Linked DNA regions of Homo sapiens: all the other regions are linked to region 2. Evidence: promoter capture Hi-C in 16 types of primary human blood cells and fetal thymus (Javierre and others, 2016). All regions are on one chromosome and are shown on one strand. Each heading gives the region's core, a stretch centred on a gene start or on the middle of the fragment in contact. The rest is flanking DNA. Distances are from core to core; before and after follow the strand shown. Region 1 overlaps LINC02749 (long intergenic non-protein coding RNA 2749). Region 2 holds the start of OR52K2 (olfactory receptor family 52 subfamily K member 2). Region 3 has its middle 17 kb from the start of SSU72L5.

Region 1 (3,620 bases), core at 195-2,694, 250 kb after region 2:
TAATTTCACTTCCCTGGATTTAATGGAAGTGAACTCATCCAAAACAATAAAAGACTGATAAATTGTATTATATAAAAATAAAATTATTTTATTATACAAAAATAAAATTATTTTATTATACAAAAATAAAATTATTTTATTCAAAAAAAAAAAGAAAAAAGAAAAGTCCTGGCCGGGTGCTGTGGCTCACGCCTGTAATCCCAGCACATTGGGAGGCCAAGGTAGGCAGATCACCTGAAGTCAGGAGTTTAAGACCAGCCTGGCCAACGTGGTGAAACCCCGTCTCTACTAAAAATTCAAAAATTAGCCGGGCGTGGTGGCGGGCACCTGTAATCCCAGCTACTCAGAAGACTGAGGCAGGAGAATCGCTTGAACCTGGGAGGGGGAGGTTGCAGTGAGCCGAGCCTGTACCACTACCCTCTAGCCTGGGCAACAGAGCAAGACTCTGTCGCAGAAAAAAAAAAAAAAATCCCAAAATAAATTAAACACTGAGAGAAAAGATCGGTAATATATAACACAGATACATATGTAATATCGCTAATATATAAATAACTTTTTCTACTCGATAGAAGTTTCAAAAACCTGATATAAAAATGGTCAAATAGTCAAAGACATAAACAGACCATTGACTGAAAAAAGAATTAAAATGTCCCGTAAACATGTGAAAAAACATTCAGCCTCAACTATAATAAGAGAAATGCAAATTAAAATAACACTGAGATATTATCTCTCACCTAGCAGATTGGCAAAAATGTAAACATACACTAACACGTTCTGTTGGCAAGGCTTGAAGAAAGTAGATGCTCAAGCATTTCTGATGGGAATGGAAATTAGTACAACCTTAATGGGGGAGAATTTGATGATATCAAACAAAATGGCACATGCTTTTCCCCCTTTTTATAATTTATCCTGGTAATACATATTCAAATATATACAAAAATACATATGTTTAAGGATTTTCATTGTAGCATTGTTTATAATTGAAAAATATTAGAAACAACCAAAATGACTTTACATAGGAAAATGGTTGAATGAACTATGGTACATCATCGAATGGAATAGTCTGCAGCTATAAAAATGAATGAGGATGACATCTATAAACTGATATAGAATGGCTCCCAAGATATGCTGTTAAATTTAAAAAGCAAAGTGTGAGAAAGTGTTTATGGTATGCCACGTTTTGTGCAAGAAAGAAAGGGGAATAAGAAAATATATATTTGTCTGCACAACTATACAAAAAGAAACTTAGGAAAGGAAACCCAGAAACTAATGAGATTGGTTCCATACAGGAGTGGGTGGAAATGGAGTGACTAAAGTTGCAGATAGCAAAATAAGTCACTTTTGTCAGACCCGAGCAAACTGGAGCCAGAACACACAAAGGAGCACAGCTCATGCTTGCACATCTGAGATAAGGACTATTTCAAGGACTTTCTAAAATAACTCCACGAGAAATTCCTTCATCTTTTATACATCTCATGCTTTTCATGATCTACATTTTACATGCATTTTACATTTTACATGCATGCACATATTTCTATGACCAGGTTTATCACTATACATTCTTTAGGACTGTAGCAATTCTGATAAGATGCTAGGCCGATGCCTAGCAGTGGCATCTCCACCAATGAACTGATGCTAATTCTAGCTTTGAGCCTCCAGAACCAATGAACTCTGTCTCCAAGCAGCTTACATAGCTTCTCCTTGCCAGTAAAAATTTCCCTTTACCTTTGGCTTGATGTACCTGTACCTATGGCTTGCTACAGCTGTGCTTCCCAGATTATAATCCTTTTGCTTACTCCCGAATAAACTCAACATATTAGGATATATTTTTCTCTGATGTCTTTTTTTAGCCTGATGGGTGAAAAGAATAAGATGGTGGGAGCAAGGTAGAGAAGATGGAGGGCAGTGACACTTCTCTGAGTTCATGTTTTTGTACAGATCTGTTCTGACTTTTACAACCATGTTAATGTTTCATGTACTCAGTTTTTCAGTAAATACAATCAACAAGGATAAAAGGAGGAAACATTAGCATTGAATACATATGGAAGCAAGTGTACCGAACTGTAGGTTAAGTGAATGACAAAACACAGTACGGGTAGGGGGTGATAACAGAAGTTTTGAAGCAGTACTTTGCCTCTGTATTCTCAGGCTAGGGCAAAAAGACAGTAGCAAATATTGAACTCTGTTTAATAGATTTGTTTCCCACACCAGCATGAGTTAACAATTCTGAAACTACATTCTGTGTATTCTAGGATTAAGCAAATAAGTAAATATACTGTGGGTAACTGAAACCAGGTTTTTCACGGTTGGAGAAGGAAATTACATATATGGAAAGAGAGAAGGTTAAAATGAACTCTAGAGTGTTGGATTGGAACTGGTCATATCAGTATGAACTCATGGTTTTTAAGAAAGATAGGTAGGTAAGTAGGTAGGTAGATAGATGAATGGATTTGCATGTGTGTGTGTGCATATTTACATAATATATATACTACACACACATGTGTGTATATGTATGACAGGGCCTAAAAATAACAACACTCTGGCAATGAACAGACCTATTCCAGGTCTTGGTTTGTTTTTATACACAATTCTCTGCTAAAAGGAATCAGGGTTTCTTAGAAAAATACCAGATTACAGAGTTTGAGCCGGGAAAGTACAAGATGAGCCTGGAATATCTTGTAGTAACAGAAAGTAAGGAAGTGCTCAAAAAGTAATAGCAGTGTGTCAAAAAGACACAAGAATCAACTTGGAGGAGCTCTCACAGGACTAATCTGGGATAATTTTGATCATCAAAATCACCAATGCTAGTAACAAAGCATAACTAATTAAATAAAATAAATATCTATGAATCCAGACTGACTGAATGGAAGATGGGTGGGTAGGTAGATGGATGGATGGGCGGGTGGATGGATGGATGGATGGATGGATGGATGGATGGATGGATGGATTGGGAGGGAGGGAGGTAAACTCTTCCTTACAGTAGAGTAACAACTAATAAATGTATGAGAAATAATGGAAGCAGAAAATTCACCATTTTACAACCATTATACCTCAAACACTAATCATCAAAGGATGCTAAAATTTAGTGGGTAAAGTCTGATGAGAAACAGAATATTTATATCATCTCAAAGTATTTCCCAAAGCTTAATTACCAAATGAAAATATTAACTTTGCAATGGCAGACAAAGCCTGGCAGACACCACCTTATCCAAGTGACCAAAGTTATTATCTCCAGCAGTGGGACAAAAACCAACATCATGTGCCTCCTGATAACAATGCACTGAGAAGGACACAATATCACTTCTGTGGCATTTCTGCCAGAAATACATAACTGGAATCTAATCATGAGGAAACATCAGACAAACCCAAATAAGGTCATTCTACAAAATAATTGTCCTGTACCCCTCAAAAAAGAAAAGTGAAAGAAAGACCAAGAGAAATCGGCTTAAAGAAGACTAGAAATGACTAAATGTAACATGATTCTAGACTAAATCCTAGACAAGAAAAATATGTATTTTTTTCCTTCTCTGGCTATAAAGACATAACTAAGACATTCGGTGAAATTTGAATAAGGTTTGTAAATTAGAGTATAGCATTGTGTCTTCTTAATTACCTGCTTT
Region 2 (3,773 bases), core at 752-3,251:
TACAGGGCTTGTGTGAAAAGCTTAGCTGTGTTGTCAGGATTAATAGAGAATTATATAGTAGGTAAGTTCACATGAGACAGGAAAAGAGAAACATAATATTCTTGCCTCCTATCTGCTTGGTCTTGCTCTTCTTTTATTATGCTGGGCCTTGGGATGGAAATTTCAGAGAACAGAATCTATCATAATTATCATTTCCTTCTCTGTCTTAGGACAAATACACAAGTCTGACACCCCTAATTTAGTATATGTGTCCCCATCCCCTATCACAGATTTGGTGGAATTAGTAAATAAATGAGCCATTCTCATTCTTGAAAACATAAGATACATCTATGTGCAAAGAAAGAGTTGCATGAAACATAAAGCCAGAGGACATGTCTTATTCAAAGTACTTAATAAAAGGAATTGGACATAAGGATGGATTGGTAAATATAAGCAAAAGAATACACATACTGGCTTAGGTGAAAAAATGATTTTCTAGCAAGCATAGGTGTCTTACTCAGAACCTGCAGCCCTGGAATGTTTCAAACTTCCTAACACTGAGTGTTTCATCAGAAGCTGGACACCACCAGTCAGAATGAATGAAGGATTCCTATGTCAGATATACTGTTGGCCCTCACCCAGGTCCTGAGTAGATAGTTCACCAAATTCCCAATGACTAAGAAAAGAAACTCAGATTTTCAAAGTCTTCTCTTCAGCAAATGAAGTTGGAAGCATCTTTGTGTCTTTCGGTGAAGTCACCTGGAGACCCATGGGTCAAGTCTCTGTCAAGTTACTGATAGGGGTGAGGGCACTGTGAGAAGACAGCACAGTCAGCACATTCAATCCACAGGCTACCAGAGGACACAGACCCATGAGTCCTGAACAGACTGGTGGCTCTGAGTTTCAGGACATCATTTTTTTTTTTTCCAAGAAAAAACTAAACATGAAGATCCTGGCAGCCGTGCACATTCTACCATAGCCTGTCTCCAACTCCAGCAGACAAGCCAACCCATTCTTTCTCCACCTCACCCTCTACATATCCTTTCTTGGGAATACTCCCAAGATGCTCTCACGGATTTGCTTGGTCTTGACACCATAGATTATGGGATTGACCATGGGTGGGAAGAGCAGATAGAAATTGGCAAGGAGGATGTGGACATGAGGGGCAGCATGGCGGGCTACACGGTGCATGACTGAAGAGATGACCACAGTTGTGTAGAAGGCTAAGATGGCACCTATATGAGAGACACATGTCCCAAATGCCTTGTAGCGGGCCTCCTGAGAGGCAAGCAGTAGAACTGCCTGAAGAATAAAGATATAAGACAGGATAACAAGGAGCAGGTCCAACACCACAATAAACATGGCCACAGCGATGCCATAGATATTGTTGAAGCTAGTGTCCCCACACGCCAGCCTCACCACAGCCATGTGTTCACAGTAGCAGTGAGCGATCACTGGGCCTCGGCAGTAGTGGAAACATCTCAGCAGGAAGGGGAGTGGAGTCATTAGTGTCACAGCCCGGGCCACAGCAGCCATGCCAATCTTGGTGATGAGGGACCCAGTCAGGACCTTGGTGTAGTGCAGTGGCTTGCAGATAGCCACATAGCGGTCAAAGGCCATGGCCAGCAGCACTGCTGACTCCATGATGGAGAAGGAGTGAAGGAAGAACATCTGGGCCAGACAGGCAAAGAAGTTTATCTCCCGATCCCTGAACCAGAATATGGCAAGCATTTTGGGCAGTGCTGAGGAGGAAAGGACCAGGTCGATGGCTGCCAACATGGCCAGAAAGAGGTACATGGGTTCATGGAGGGCTGCATCAGCCTGGATGATGAGAAGGAGAGTGCAGTTTCCAAGCAGGGCCAGTGTATATGCTAAGCAGAAAGGGATGGAGATCCAGATGTGCAGGTGTTCCAGGCCTGGAATCCCCACCAACAAGAAGGCAGTTGGATGTGTTAAGGTGATATTGGAGGCTGACATGGCTCCTGGGAATTCTCTTCCTCCTTATCTGCTTCCACAGGGCCCTTCCAGAGAATATTCAATATCAGCAGAATTACAATGCTCACATTCAAACTCTGATCATTCTTGTGAGAAGATTAGTTCTTAGACCCATTTTTAGACATGAAAAGAAATGAGAAAATAATCATATGTATCATGAAATATTATGCATGATCCTTGCCCTTAAGCTGTTTATAAAAACACTGGGTGCTCAGGACATTTAATTCCAATAAAGCTAGTATTACAAAGCAGCCTTATTGAGAAATCAAGTGGAGGAAGAGCCTTTTGTGGCCTGCATGTGGCCAAAAGCAACTTTGTAAATAATACAGATTGCTGCTTAATTCAAATCATACCCACAAACATTTACCGTCACTGTCTTCCTATTGCCTTCCAATTCAAACTACACTCCCAATTATGAAAGAGTTTCTGCCCTGAAATGTCAATCTTGGTCATATGAAAAATAAATGTAGTTAGCACTTTCTAATAATTCACTTCCCTACAAGTTCTTTAGATTTTTTTTCTAGCAGGGTTTCGTAGGTCCTTGTTTGACACTCAGAAATCCCTCCAACTAAAGCCCTACCTCCAGGTAACTTGAGAACATGAGAAGCCCTTTTGTTGTTCTCTTTTGCCTAACTGTAGTTTAACCTTCATCTCTACGTGCTTCTTCCTTCCTGGACTTCATGACATTCAGAAGAAGAGATGCCCCACACTTACCTTTTTGCAAGACTGACCTATTCCCTTCACACTATTTTTCCATCTGGGATCCTTATCATTCTATCTTTTTCCACCTTCTGTTGTCATTTCCCTTGAAAACGTTTAAACATTTCCTTGCAATATTTTTGACCTGTGCCACCTTTTTTTTCAGCTCCTGCCTAAAAACTTTCTTTTGGGGATTTTGAGATCTTTTAAAACACTTAGCACAAATCTTGAAACAGTGCTCAGTAAACGTGGACACTTATGAATTGAGAAAACAAAAGACTAAGTCACTAACAATCAGAACAGTTGGAAAACGTCAAAGATGAAACTTGAGCTTCGAGAACTCTGGTTTGCTGCCTCCCAATCCAATGTCTTAAATCACTACACTCTTCTGCTTCTACCTCATTGCTTCCTAAGAAGTATAAATCCAGCATATTCAAGTTAACAGAAATATAACTCAAACTCATTATCATGATATAGGAAAAAAAATTAGAATCTAAAGACTTGGGTTTAAGTAATGATTGAGCCATCAGCCTACCAATAGAAACTAGTATTAATCACTGAAATTTTTAAAGATTTAGGTTCCTCACCTATAGATGAAGGCATAACCATATCTTCCATGACAATTTTACTGCTTCATGATGAGGAAAGATAAAATCATGAGAAGAGTCCCTGTAAACTGTAAAGCATTGTAAAACTGTTATTTGTCATTACAATATTCCCCCTCCCACACAAATCTGCCCCCTTTTTTAAAATGTTTTTCTTGACATCAGCACAATCCCGCATTCCTTGGCCTTATATCTCCCTCCATCTAACACCCGCAACTGTTTTCCTTCACAACAATGTTTGTTGAAAAAGTTGAGTAATTCATTATCTAATTCCTCATCTCTTAATTTTTAATTCCTTCCAATCTAGCTCCCATCTCCTCTACTCCCCTTATATGATCTTATCATTGCTTGTGTATTCCCCTCTCTCTCTCTTCTTTTCTCTCCTCTTTTTGTTGCCCTTTTATTCTCATACTTCTCTAGGTGCTCTCTTAGGTGGTAAAAATGCCAAGAGAAATCAATATTCAGGGAATGCTCAACTGTCTAGCTTCTACTCTG
Region 3 (3,717 bases), core at 160-2,659, 230 kb after region 2:
TCTGCAAATGGAGTGATGAGAGGGGTTCCTTGGACTTGAACTAGAAGTTAGAGTCTACCATGACCTAGTGATGGAAAAGAGAATAGGTCTCAGAAACATTTAGGAAATAATCTTGTTAAAACTTCATGATCAATTGGATGAAGGAAGGTCCAGGTCCATGATGATTCCCTGGTTTCTAAATAGGGTGATTGCACCTTAAGTCTTGCAACTAACCAAAATAGATAATTGAGGCAAAGTAGGAAGTTCTACTTTTGCCAAATTCAACTTGAGATATACAAAAGAAAAGTTTCCTAATGCTGTTTATATATTCAACTCTGAGGCTTGGAGAAGAAGCCTTGGATAGAAGTTTAGATTTCAGTGGCATCGGTACCTACAGGTGCACGATGAAGCCATCAGATGAGTGGGAGAAAAAGCTTGCATCTACTCCTTATATGTTTATAACCCACCTCATTTCAAAATCAGATTTGAGTCAGCAGGAGAACATGTAGAAAGAGAATTAAAAGTCAGAATATTTGCCTAATAGACTCTAAATTTAGGGTAAGTAATGAAGAGGGACTCTCCCATAAACAAGAGAACTCAAATGTTGGTTTCACTGAAGCAAAGGATCCAAAAAGTTTTCTTCAAGAAGCAGAGATTGATCAAAACTTGAATTCAGTAGAGAGTTCCAGCATGTGAAGAATTAGGAGTTTTGTTTACCAGAACAGTTTCTTTCTAGTGCTCAGATATAAGTGAGATAGCCCTGGGCTACAGAACAAGTAGAGATAATGCTCCTTCAGAAAATAGGCTTGTCGGGGGAGGGTAGATGAGATTTGGACTTGAGGCAGGGCCTGACACATGTAGAATGTTGTGCTGGTTGTTTTGAAGACAGGACGTATTTAGTGTGTTTTTCATCTTGAGGAGACTTAGATGATATAAATTATGAAGGATATTTTATGTAGCAAGGCCCTAGATGGGATGAAACGGTTTGAAGGGGAGTAGCGGGTGATCTTGAAAAACAGGAACACTTTATTCAGTAGCCAAGAATAAAGTAATAATTAGTTTACTGAGTTGGCACTCTTAGCTAGTATGTGTAATAAGACTTCAGGTATTTTGTCTCCTTTAGGAGCAACACCAGGAAATACGTGGAATTACCCACTAACGGACTAAGAAATGAAGATATTGCCTAAGGTCATTACCACTCAGAACCCAATCTGTCTGATTTAAAAGTCCTGAGCCTGGCCGGGCGCGGTGGCTCACACCTGTAATCCCAGCACTTTGGGAGGCCAAGGTGGGTGTATCACCTGAGGTCAGGAGTTAGAGACCAGCCTGGCCAACATGGTGAAACCCCGTCTCTACTAAAAATACAAAACTTAGCTGGGAGTGGTGGTGCACGCCTGTAATCCTAGCTACTTGGGAAGCTGAGGTGGGAGAATTGCTTGAACCCAGGAGGCAGAGGTTGCAGTGAGCCGAGATCGGGCCACTGCACTCCAGCCTGGGTGACAGAGTGAGACTCCATATCAAAAAAATGTCCTGAGCCCTTAGCCAGTAGGTCTCACTGCCTCTGTGGAGAATATAGGTGTTGATGAGTCCAAGTTGGAAGGTGGGGTGGTGGGATGTTGAGGAGGGCATACCTGATACCCTCCAATTTTGATGTCATTGGTACAATGTTGGCTACCATTTGAATAGAGGGCTTGATGAGAGAATCACCTCAGAAAGGAAGAGATGAACAATATGAATGATGAAGATGCTGCTAAGTGAGAAGCACCCGTGGGGTGGGAGGAAGGACACGACATTATCAATGTTGATCAATGTTGAAGGACATGACATTATCAGTGAAGATGGTGGTGAGAGAGAGGAAGCAGTGGGATGGAGACACCACGAGTCACTTGTCGATTAATGGTTCGTTCACGCAACATTTTTTGAGCACCTTATGTGTACTCCATAGTATTCTCAATGTTGGGCCTACTTAGGTATAAGACATTCTGTCCCCTCAAGCTGTTCACAATCTAATCAACACAGTGGTAAATACTAACATGGGGTCATCTTGGGATGGCAGAACTTACAAGGAGCAACCATCCTAATCTCTGGGGATCAGAAAAGGCTTTCTGGAGGAGGTAATGTCTAACCCTAACCTGGGGGCTGAAGTGTGAATAGGGGTTTACTAAATGAAGGAGAAAGACTTTCAGAGAAATGGAAGAACAGCTTATGGAAATTTCAGACAGGAAGAGAAAGAAGGGCCTATTCTTAGGTGCTTAAGGGAAGGTGAAACATTGAAGGGAAGTAATGGCACTGAGGTTGGATGGGTCACCTGAGGTGAAGCTATCAGAGCCTAGTAAATTTTGCTGAGAAATTGTGATTTTATCCTGAGGTGCTGAGGATTTTAAGAAGTGAAATGAAATAACTAGATGTGCATTTTAGAAAGCTTAGTATAGCCACAATATAAAGAATTCGTTACGAGGGCAAGAATGGGGATTGGGGAGACCAGTCAGGAGCCTGTTTGGTAACCCAGGTGGGGTCAGGAAAATGGCAGAGGGCATGGAGAGAAGGAAGTCACACAGCTGATTCCAGAAGCCCTTTCTCTGACTAGAGAGAGGGTGACTTCTCTACTAAATCATTCTGCTGTTTCTTCTGTTCCCTCTAGACTCTAGTGCCTATGGCCAACCTTGGAAAGGCATGGCCAAAGCACCTGTGTGAGCCACTGCTACAGAATCTGGAGGAGCTGACATAGAGAAGAAACTCAGGTTCCTCCTGAAGGACCCATCCATGGAGAGGTCCTCCCAGATACCCTGGGGCGAGGTGATGAAGACCTGGGACAAGGCCCTCAGCCACAGGAAGAAGATGACCATGAAGAGCTTGGGGAAGCAAATGCAGAGAAAGGCCTGTGTGTGTGGTAAGTGTGGGAAGGATTTGTGTTTGCGGCAACCACCCTCTGCTGTTCTCCCTTTGCATCCTGCCTTCTTTCAGTTCTAGTTTTCCCTTTAGATCCTTTTTTTCCTTTCACCTCCTCATCACCCACCCCTTCACTTCCCTCCACTGTTTGCCCACCATCCCTTTTCCTCCTGTTCCTCATTAGCCTGTGTGTGTGTGTGTGTGTGTGTGTGTGTGTGTGTGTGTGTGTGTCCTTGATTACCTCCACCTGTTCTTTCCACTTGCCATTTCAAAGGTGAAATGTCCTGCTCTCACTCAGAGATAATGTAGCTCCTCACTAGGTGGAAAGCCAGCATATTTTCACATGTTCAGTGACCTTGCCTGGAAGGAAGTAAAAGTCAGTTGACCCCAAAAAGCCCATCGCCACCACCACCACCTCAAGACCAGAGTTCAGGGGCCATGTTCTGGGTCAGTGACCTACTGGTATCACCAGAGTGAAGCTGAAAGGGGCCAAGAAGATGTATAAGCAATTCCAGGAAGGTCTGTAATAAGACTTTGAGGAGAGCCAGAAAGAACTTTCCCCTCCTTGGCCAGAAGCAATGCACGCCACAGAGTTCTGAGGGAAAGGGCCCTAGCGCTGCTTTCCTGGGGAGTGAGGCGCACACTCCACACCCACCTGAGTCCCCTGTCCACTGTTTCCTGGATCCGGTTTTAGTCTGTTGTGCAGCTTCCCTAATAAGGGGTAAGTGTTTCTTTGGCTGGCTGAAAGAGGCCTGCTCCTTTCCTGGTGCTATGAATCCAGGTGGGACTGCAGTGGCTCTTCTATGGCCATTGACTGTGTGAGCCCCACGGTAAGGCGGGGAGGAGGCA

The links. Contacts are between HindIII fragments. The CHiCAGO score rates a contact against its expected background, and 5 or more counts as called.
Region 1: a contact is called between a fragment that was not itself captured here and the fragment with the promoter of OR52K2 in region 2, in 8 of 17 cell types (non-activated CD4 T cells, naive CD8 T cells, M2 macrophages and 5 more). The highest score is 8.8, in non-activated CD4 T cells.
Region 3: a contact is called between a fragment that was not itself captured here and the fragment with the promoter of OR52K2 in region 2, in 13 of 17 cell types (naive CD4 T cells, naive CD8 T cells, total CD4 T cells and 10 more). The highest score is 10.1, in naive CD4 T cells.

Annotation. Positions count from the first base shown.
Region 1 is chr11:4,194,755-4,198,374 of GRCh38, reverse strand. The region is part of intron 1 of LINC02749 (long intergenic non-protein coding RNA 2749); the gene reads right to left. Among named protein-coding and RNA genes, the nearest start is that of LINC02749, 9.4 kb to the right of the region's middle. The HindIII fragment of the contact is 3,403 bases long and covers 1-3,145 here.
Region 2 is chr11:4,447,523-4,451,295 of GRCh38, reverse strand. It overlaps OR52K2 (olfactory receptor family 52 subfamily K member 2), which reads right to left and starts at 2,001. Exons shown (of 1, transcript NM_001005172.2): 1 at 935-2,001. The coding sequence starts at 1,956. The coding sequence ends at 1,012. The HindIII fragment of the contact is 8,565 bases long and covers 23-3,773 here.
Region 3 is chr11:4,214,168-4,217,884 of GRCh38, reverse strand. No RefSeq gene overlaps it. Among named protein-coding and RNA genes, the nearest start is that of SSU72L5, 17 kb to the left of the region's middle. The HindIII fragment of the contact is 1,988 bases long and covers 416-2,403 here.